Linked DNA regions of Homo sapiens: regions 1 and 2 are each linked to region 3. The links are contacts of gene promoters, found by promoter capture Hi-C in blood cells and fetal thymus (Javierre and others, 2016). All regions are on one chromosome and are shown on one strand. Each heading gives the region's core, a stretch centred on a gene start or on the middle of the fragment in contact. The rest is flanking DNA. Distances are from core to core; before and after follow the strand shown. Region 1 holds the start of BMP10 (bone morphogenetic protein 10). Region 2 overlaps APLF (aprataxin and PNKP like factor). Region 3 holds the start of PROKR1 (prokineticin receptor 1).

Evidence for each region. The method cuts DNA at HindIII sites, captures the fragments that hold promoters and counts their contacts. A CHiCAGO score of 5 or more calls a contact.
Region 1: a contact is called between the fragment with the promoter of BMP10 here and the fragment with the promoter of PROKR1 in region 3, in 6 of 17 cell types (activated CD4 T cells, naive CD4 T cells, non-activated CD4 T cells and 3 more). The highest score is 6.8, in activated CD4 T cells.
Region 2: a contact is called between a fragment that was not itself captured here and the fragment with the promoter of PROKR1 in region 3, in 1 of 17 cell types (megakaryocytes). The highest score is 5.7, in megakaryocytes.

What each region holds. Positions count from the first base shown.
Region 1 is chr2:68,869,772-68,872,679 of GRCh38, forward strand. It overlaps BMP10 (bone morphogenetic protein 10), which reads right to left and starts at 1,626. Exons shown (of 2, transcript NM_014482.3): 1 at 1,254-1,626. The coding sequence starts at 1,587. RefSeq lists a silencer at 1,442-1,602. The HindIII fragment of the contact is 2,140 bases long and covers 594-2,733 here.
Region 2 is chr2:68,498,945-68,501,759 of GRCh38, forward strand. The region is part of intron 2 of APLF (aprataxin and PNKP like factor); the gene reads left to right. Among named protein-coding and RNA genes, the nearest start is that of APLF, 33 kb to the left of the region's middle. The HindIII fragment of the contact is 2,458 bases long and covers 80-2,537 here.
Region 3 is chr2:68,642,319-68,645,308 of GRCh38, forward strand. It overlaps PROKR1 (prokineticin receptor 1), which reads left to right and starts at 1,261. Exons shown (of 3, transcript NM_138964.4): 1 at 1,261-1,530. The HindIII fragment of the contact is 2,701 bases long and covers 1-1,893 here.

The DNA of each region.
Region 1 (2,908 bases), core at 376-2,875, 230 kb after region 3:
AACTCAATTTTAAAGGGAGATAATATCTTAGGGACTAAGGAATACCTACTCAACATTTATTCCAGTACCTAGAATATTAAGTAACTCATTAGTAGTCACTAAAGTTTGATCAGCACTTCATAGTAAATGGAGTGCTTTCTTATCTGTAACCTCCTTTGAGTCACTCAACTATGTTATGTAGGTATTATTACTCCCACTTTATAGATGAGGAAATTGAGGCTCTGAGGCATCAGCTAATTATTCACAACCACTAAGCCAACTAGCTCTCAAAATCCCAAATCCTGAGCTATTTCTTCACTATTACCTTTCTTCTTTCAAGAACATCTGGCCAATATTAACGGGAAGCTTCTTTTATACCTGGTTAGTGACTATAAAAGCATAACTGGCAAAAATTAAATTAGTTCCTTTGGACCTTCAGCTTCTACTATAGATATCTAGATATCAGGGGTTTTTTTTCCTACTAGGACCATATTAACCAAAAAACAAACAAACAAACAAACAAACAAAAACATTAACTTGCTAGCTCATTAGATTTAGTTACCAAATTTAAAGACCTAAGAGAAGAAAACACACTTTTCCCACCAATAATTCAAAGCTTGTACGTTGCTCTTTATAAAGACGGAAATGATGAGCTGGATGATTAATGGGCCATCTACACTTCCTGGAAACTGTAAACAGTGCTTTAAGGATGTACATGACACATCAAACAACACAGCCTTAGGAAGAATCTTTAAAATATATTTCCATCCTGTTTGAACATTTCTTAAATAAGGTCACAAAATAAAAACTTATCAAAAGTTTGAACAAAACACAAATCACAATTTGATGTTTTTTGACTGTTTTTACCCTTTTTATTCTAAGTAGAAGTTGAGAAATTTTTTAGTTAATTAAAAGCCCATATGGCAATCAAGGCCTATTTGGAAAATGACAAAGGTACGGCAGTAGACCAACATTAATTCTTTGTATTACTTGGTGTTCAAATTAACATTTTTTAAAAGGACCCAATTATGATGTCAAATTGATAGATGTTTTGTGGCTTTGGATTAAAAGATGTTTGTAAGTATTTTTCGAGGTTCCTGAAATGACTATATAATTGGTATAGAACAAAATGTGCCTTGTTTTTGTGTATCCATATGTATTTAACATCCTTATATAGATGTATTTACCCTTACCTATATCATTCCCATGCATTGTAAATTTACTTATTGTGTCTTGAAAAAAATCCTAGCAAAATTTCATCAGCAAAAACTTACCTTCATTCTTGAAACTCCTAATGATGTTGGCAGAGGGCATGGAGGTCCGATCTGTTGCAAATTTGTTGTAGAGTTCCAACATGTACTCTGGTGGGTCCACCTTGGCTGAATCCTGCGTGGGGATGTCAGAGAGGTTTAGTGTCTTAAGAAACTCATCCTTCATGCTCTGGAGCAGTGTGTTAAAGTCGACACCGTCTTGCTCTGAGAAAACATCACCAAAGAGGGACATATCTTCTTCCAGAGGAGACTGCTCTAGGTTCATGATGGGGCTGCCAGAAACCAAGTAAGCTGCCAGGCAGAAAAGAGCGCACAGTGTCAGGACCAGAGAGCCCATGACTCCGCTCGAGCTCCTAGGCCAAGCCAGGAAGGTTTAGCTTCCCTGGGCTCTAAGTGGCAGTTTTATCTTGTGGAACGTAAATGTCTCCTGTCACTGGAGACAAGTTTGGAAACTCTTCCTCTCTCTCTCCCTCCCCCTACCACTCTTCCTCTCCCCCTAAAAGTCAGGTTGCAGTAATTGGATAACAAAATCCCCTATAGGGGCCTAGCCTTTCTTATCTCCCTAGTGTAAACTTGTGCACCAGAATTTGTTTCTATCTTGCAATCCCTATTTCTTTTAATGAGCATTTTGTAAACATTTCCACATTCTGACACTGGTTGAGAGATAGGACAATTTTCTCTTTGCAAAGGCTCTGCTTCTCTTCCCTTCAATTCACTTCCTTTCAGCAGGAATGCCTAAATTCTGTTTTTATGGGGCTTAGTTTCACACATGCATATAATAGGTATAAGAATCAACATAATGCACATCAATGGTGATACATGTTAATTTGAGAGGTAGGGCTCAGATAAACACTTGTGAAGACAGACCAAATATCCAAACTTTCCAAGTTTAAGTTAATAGCTATAAATGAATTATATAAATTTTTAGAAGTGTACCTTTTTAGAAACAGGAAAGTATAAACTTCATGATTGACAGGCTTTTTCCTACCTATTTGATCTGGCTAAAATAGCATTTGAAAAATAGGGCAAGTGCTTAGTTATACTGGCAACTAGAATTTATTAGATGCTTCCTACAAACAGGCATTGTACTGAGTGCTTTACACCTATCATCAAGTGTGCTCCTGTAATAACCGTATCATTATCTCCATCACATATATGGGTCAGTGAAGTGCCATAGCTTGCCAGAGGCCACAAAGTTGCAAAGTGATGGGGCCACAATTTCAACCAAGGCAGCCTGATTCTTATGAAGAATAAAACAGTCACACTTTTAAACCACTCTTCTACCAGACTAGGGCATGGGCAATAATGCTGAGAGGCCAACACGTCCCCAGATCAGCCTGGAGGCAGGAGGCAGGCAGAAATTTGTAGCTGGATGTGGACCTCAGGTCCTCCATCTGTGCAATGAGTTGTTAATATAACCAACATCTCTGCGAAATTCATCCTTCTGACTCAATCAAAATTGTCATCAAGAGGCTCCAGCAAAAGCTTGGTGTGATGGTTAATACTTACTGTCAACTTGATTGGATTGCAGGATGCAAAGTATTGATCCCGGGTGTGTCTGTGAGGGTGTTGCCAAAGGAGATTAACATTTGAATCAGTGGGCTGGGAAAGGTAGACCCACCCTTAATCTAGCTAGGCACCATCTAATCAGCCGCCAG
Region 2 (2,815 bases), core at 59-2,558, 140 kb before region 3:
AAATTAAAATTGTACTTGTGAAATATCTGGAAAATCCTATAATAATAGCCTTTCCTCAACTTATTTTGTTAAAAAAAAAAGCTTTCCAAATTAAACAAACAAACAAAACACTGAAAATAAGGTGCTTTTTGGGGGTATACATCTATCATTCTTTAGTATTTAATGATAACTCTAAGAGAAAGCTATAGGAAATTGATTTGTATTTTAGTTTCATTTTTTGCAGGGATAATGCATCCTTTGCACCACTTCTAAAGTTATAGCATGATCTGTTGAAGTTTTAATTTATAATCTCATGAATTTGTTAAAAGGCATACACCAACAATGTCTCTCATGTAGGTAGTTATATCTTTTAATCATGGTGAGGTTGGGTTTGCCAATATTTTGCCTGCTCTTGTTTGCTTTTAGAATCAAAGTTAAACTTGTCTCATTGAAGCAGTTGGGAGTCCTTAACCCTTTTGTGATATCAAGAAAAGTTTGAATATTCAGAAAAATCTTTAAATCCACTGGGGTCTTGTTTTGGGAGGGATTGAAAAGATTTTTAATTATTGATTGTACTTCTGAAATATTACAGGTCCAATTCAATCTCCTTTCTCTAATAATTAAATACTCTCAAGCCAGGTGCAGTGGCTCACACTTGTAATCCCAGCACTTTGGGAGGCCAGGGCAGGTGGATCACTTGAGGCCAGGAGTTTGAGACCAGCCTGGCCAATGTGGTGAAACCCCATTGCTACTAAAAACACAAAAATTAGCCAGTTGTGGTGGCGGGCGCCTGTAGTCCCAGCTACTCAGGGGGCTGTGGCATGAGAATTGCTTGAACCTGGAGGCAGAGGTTGTAGTGAGTAGAGATCATGCCACTGCACTCCAGCCTGGGTAACAGAGCAAGACTCTGTCTCAAAAAAAGAAAAAATAAATAAATACTTTCAAACAGGCTGCACATACATACACGTAAACATACTTTAAAAAAATCTATTTGGTGTTATTAGGTAATTGTCTCTTTTGGCCATATTTACAAATGTATTCCTATAAAGTATTTACAGTATTCTGTTATTTTTCAAAACTTTTATTTTTTGTGTAATTATGCCATTGTTTTCATTCCTAATTTTTTGGTGTGTAATCTTCCTTTTTGTTTATTAATATTGTTAGGTTTTTGTATACTTTGTAACTTTTTAAAAGCTACTTTTTGGACTTCATGTACGTATAGCATTTTAGTTGGAGTATATGTAGTTTGACATTGATTTTTTAACTTATTCAGTGAGTAATATGAATTTAGGTTTACGTTAGAGGATCAAACATTAGACTTGAGTATCATTTTTACTCTTCATTTTGGAATCTCCTGTATTAACAGTTTTAGGAAAAGGAAAAGATGATCATGGACCATACTCATGGGTTCACTTTCTTTGTGGCTGGATTTGCTGACTGCCAATATTTAACCAAGTATAATTTAAATATTAAGTGCTTTCCGCTGAGGAAAACATACTCAAACAGAATATTGCGTGATCTCTGGGTTTGTGATGCTTTTGTAAAGAAATGTAGTTTCCTTAAGTATGTTACCTTTTCCAGTCTTAAACAATGTTATGCCTTTGTATTTAACATCCTAGCCTTTGTAAGTTTGGGACCATGTCAGTATTTAACGTTGTTTAGAGACTCATCTGAAGTTTTAAAATGCTCATGAATGAGAAGAACATGGTCTTAGCCTATAATCAGAAGCAAGCGTCACTTAAAGAATATTCAGAGTTCAGACCAAAGCTATGTGGATTCCTGTTCTGACTCTTGCTTCTCCTGTTAGTTCAACATTCCTGACTCTGATGACCATGACATACTCAAGGAAAGGGAGCCTTCGCCCAAAAGGATGAGGAATACAGGGCACGATTCCCAAGTTCAGCAGCGGACACAAGCTCAGAGCCTGTCAATTTGTCATGTGCTTGTTGCACTCAAAAGCTCAACCTGCCAAGAGCCAGAGGACAGCTTTGAGAGAGAGAAATTAGGAGTGGCTGTTAGCATGGTGAAAGATTTCTAAACATTGTTTAAATTGTAACTTGAATTTAAAAATCAAACATTCACTACTCTTTTTAGGAATACAATATTGCATAAATCACACTGCATCTCCATTCTTATGCAATCTTGTGTATAGTTTGACTAATAAAATAATGGCCGACCAAATTTGTGTCATCTCTGTTTTAAATTTCTACCTCTGCTCTTTATCTCCAAGTTTTATTTTACCGCTTTCTTGTAACAGATTTAAAGGATAGAAATATGATGTATGGCCAGATTCTTATGAAATTGAATGGTCAGAACTAGGTGGATTATATTCATTCTGTCTTCAAAGATGTGTCTTTTTTGTGGTTGTTATTGCTCAGCATATGTCCATTCCCAGGGTGGTAATTACTTTGCTGTGATGTCTCCAGAGGAAGTCTCATTTAAACTGATGAAATAGATAGAAGGAAGGGTAATAGAGATCGGTGCTCTCTATAAGATTGTACTTAAAAAAAAAAAACACCAAAGATCTGCATTATGTAGATTGCTTTGTCATATCCTAAAGCTTATTTGTTTTAAAAACCCAGTGATATTATGACAAAATGCCTATTTGACTTATGGAAAGAGCCAATTTTAGCTTGAATCTAGTTAGAATTTTTAAGGCACCTCATAATAGGTCCTTTTTGTTTTTTGAAGCAACTCTTGTTATCTTTGCTAACATGGAAATAGTGGCAAACATAATATAAAATAGTGGATATTGTAATAGTTCTAACTTTGAGATCTGTTTACTACTTTGATTTGAATGTGGATGGTCTTCATAGTGGGAGTTTCATTTAAACAA
Region 3 (2,990 bases), core at 11-2,510:
GCATTCCTTACGTGGTAGCATCAAGAGGAAACTGAGGGAGAAGCAAAAGTGGAAACCCCTGATAAACCCACAGGATCTCGTCAGGCTTATTCACTATCACGAGAATAGCATGGGAAAAACAGGCTCCCATGATTCAATTACCTTCCCCTGGGTCCCTCCCACAATACGTGGGAATTCTGGGAGATACAATTCAAGTTGAGATTTGGGTGGGGACACAGCCAAACCGTATCACCCTGCTTTTAATTTTTTGGGTTAGACACCCGGAAGTGGAAACACTCGATCATATGGTAATTGTATTTTTTAACTTTTTGAGGAAACCCTATACTGTTTTCTACAGTGGCTTCACCATTTTACTTTCCTACCGACAGTGCACAGGGTTCCAGTTTCTCCACATTCTCACCAACACTTGTTATCATTTCTTTTTACAGCTGGATAATATTCTATTGCATGTATATACTATATGTATTTTGTTAATCCACTTAGCTGATGGACATTTGGGTTGTTTCTGTCTTTTGGCTACTGTGAATAGTGCTGCCATGAACATCAGTGTATGTGTGTCCCTGCTTTCAATAGTTTGGGGTTACATACCTTGGAGTGGGATTGCGGGACTATATGCCTCACGTTTTGAGGAATCTATGGGCTTGTAAAGGTAGACTGTGCTCTGTAAGTCAGCGCTGTCCGTCCCAGCCTTCTAAGCAGACATCCCTGGGCGGGGGTCCTTCCTCTCTCCAGTGTGCTACCCCGCCCCCTTGTTTGCTCTCCAGAAAGCACTTCTCTGAGCCTCTTTTACGGAGAGGTAGGGCAGCTGGCAACAAAGATGGCCCTGGTGTCCGTTCAGGCTGGCCCAGGGGACCAGGTTGGGGCCGGCCCCTGAGTGTCCCCTGAGGAGGTGTGTGAGCAGCGGGGGAGGCTCCTCGGTCCTTTGCAAGCTCGCGGCTGAGCGGGGCCGTGTCCGTCCACTCCGACGGCGCTGGGCTGCCAAGGTGAGCCGCCGAGGAGCCCCGTGCCCCGAGGCGGGCACAGCCGCCCTGCATGGGTGCCCCCGGCGCGGGATTGACGCAGAGCCCTGCCCGGAGCCCCAGCGACCCCGTTCCTGCCCCAGGCGGCCGTTCCGAAGCCTGAGCCGGGCAACGCGCAGCCCGCCTGGCCCGGCTCCCTCCCGCGCGTCCTCGTCGCGAGCTGCCGCCTGGGAGCTCCAGACGCTCCCGCCCAGGGCGATCCGGACGCTCCCGCCCAGGGCGATCCCGGCCTCTGCAGCCCAGCTGGCGACACGCCTCGCCAAGAGCCCGCACCTCGGCGCCTCACGGCCACCGGAGGCGGGGACAGGGAGTCCGGCGCGGGCCGGGTCGGGGGATCTGCAGCGGCGGCGCGAAGGTAACTCCCCCGCCAGAGCCGGGAAAGAGCCCCGAGCAGAGGAGGAAGGGAGCGGGGACCTGCCCTTCGCCTGCCGGCTTCTGGAAGAAGCGTCTCCTGATCCGGCCCCGGAATAAGAAACCCGGACCTTGCCTGCCGGGCTCCGCGATGCCGCAGGTACAGAGCGCGCCCTCCCGGGGAGGATGCTCCAGGGACCCCGCGCTGCACTGGCTGCGGCCGTGGGGTGCGGCGGCTTCTGAGTGAAGAGGGGACTTTGCCAGGGATTCACTCCTGTGAGTTTCTTCAGGAGAGCCAGGCTTCCCCTCCTCTGTCCTTAGGGGAAGCTGCCCAGGCTCCAGGGAGAAAGTTGGGAGCAGGCGGGGGACTTGCCAGCAGGGGTTTGTGAGAGAGGCTTCTAGCGATCGAGAGGTCACCAGGTGGGGGTAGGATTGGGGTTCCCCTCTGAACGGTGAGAATAAAGGAGAAAAGACCTCTGGACAATCATCCTTAATCTCGTGACGCCCTCCTCTCCACCCCCGAAGCTTCTGTATTCTTTGCTTTTAAACACTACTTTGACCCTTCAGGTAGCATGCTTGTAGGGGTACCCCTCCAGGAGTGGCATGCCTCTGCGACCCACGGGACCTGCAAGGAGTGGGGCTTGTCCCGCCTGGGTTCCAAGCCTGCCCCCCTCCTTCTTTTCAGCTGAGTTCTGCCTCTCCTCCCTGAGTGGGCAGAGGGCAAGGGCTGAGCCAGACAGAATTGAGAGCTCGGAGGAAGGAAAAAATCAGGGTAAGGAGTTAGGACAGAGAGGCAGCAATGGGGCTGAGCCTCACTGGGGCGCAGAGGGACTTTAAACTTGGCCCCAAGAAGACAGGCTCCAGATGTTTTGCCTCGGAGGAATATGGAGAGCAGGCTTTCCTGGGGGTGGGGAGGTGGGGTCCTGGGCATCTTCCTCATCTTCCTTTCCCAGGAAAACTCTGGCTTGCATTCTTCCCTCTGTTCTCCTGACATTTGTTTTAGGGTGCTCTCCAGACCTCAGCCCTCCTTCTACGTCCCACTCCCTGGTCTGATGTCTTCAGGGTTTGGGAGGGACTGCAGGGAGAGAGCAGGGGACAGGGGGACTCTGGCTGCCTCCCTGTCCCCACCAGGGCAGCTGACACCCCCCTAGACCCCTCACCCCAGCCCCATTATGTGGTGTGGTGGAGTCCCTGTATCAGGATTTCGCTCCCCTTCCTTGCAGCTGACAGAGGAGGCCTGAGAGCGCAGTAGTAACTCCTTGCAGTTCTAGGGTGTAACACTCTCCTCCAGGGAGCTCCAGGCTGTGCAGACATTATTGATCTCCTGCCTGGCAGAAGTTGAACCTCTGAGTGTTTAAGCTATTTACCCCTGGACACTCAACCAGCCAAGGAAAAATTTTGCTCTAGCGTCCCCATTCTCATCACTTGGTTAGTCACAGGCTGTGACTTTACCCTACAGCCTCTGTCTGGGGACAGGCCTTCATAAATGCTGTTCCCAGCTTCTAGGGTCATAGCAGGTTCTAATGTGGGAACAGGAAGTCCAGCAAATAGTGAGGAAGGTGGCTGCTCTATGGCTCTGTGATTTTAGAGCCATGTTCTGCCAGAAGAGCAAGGAGAGCA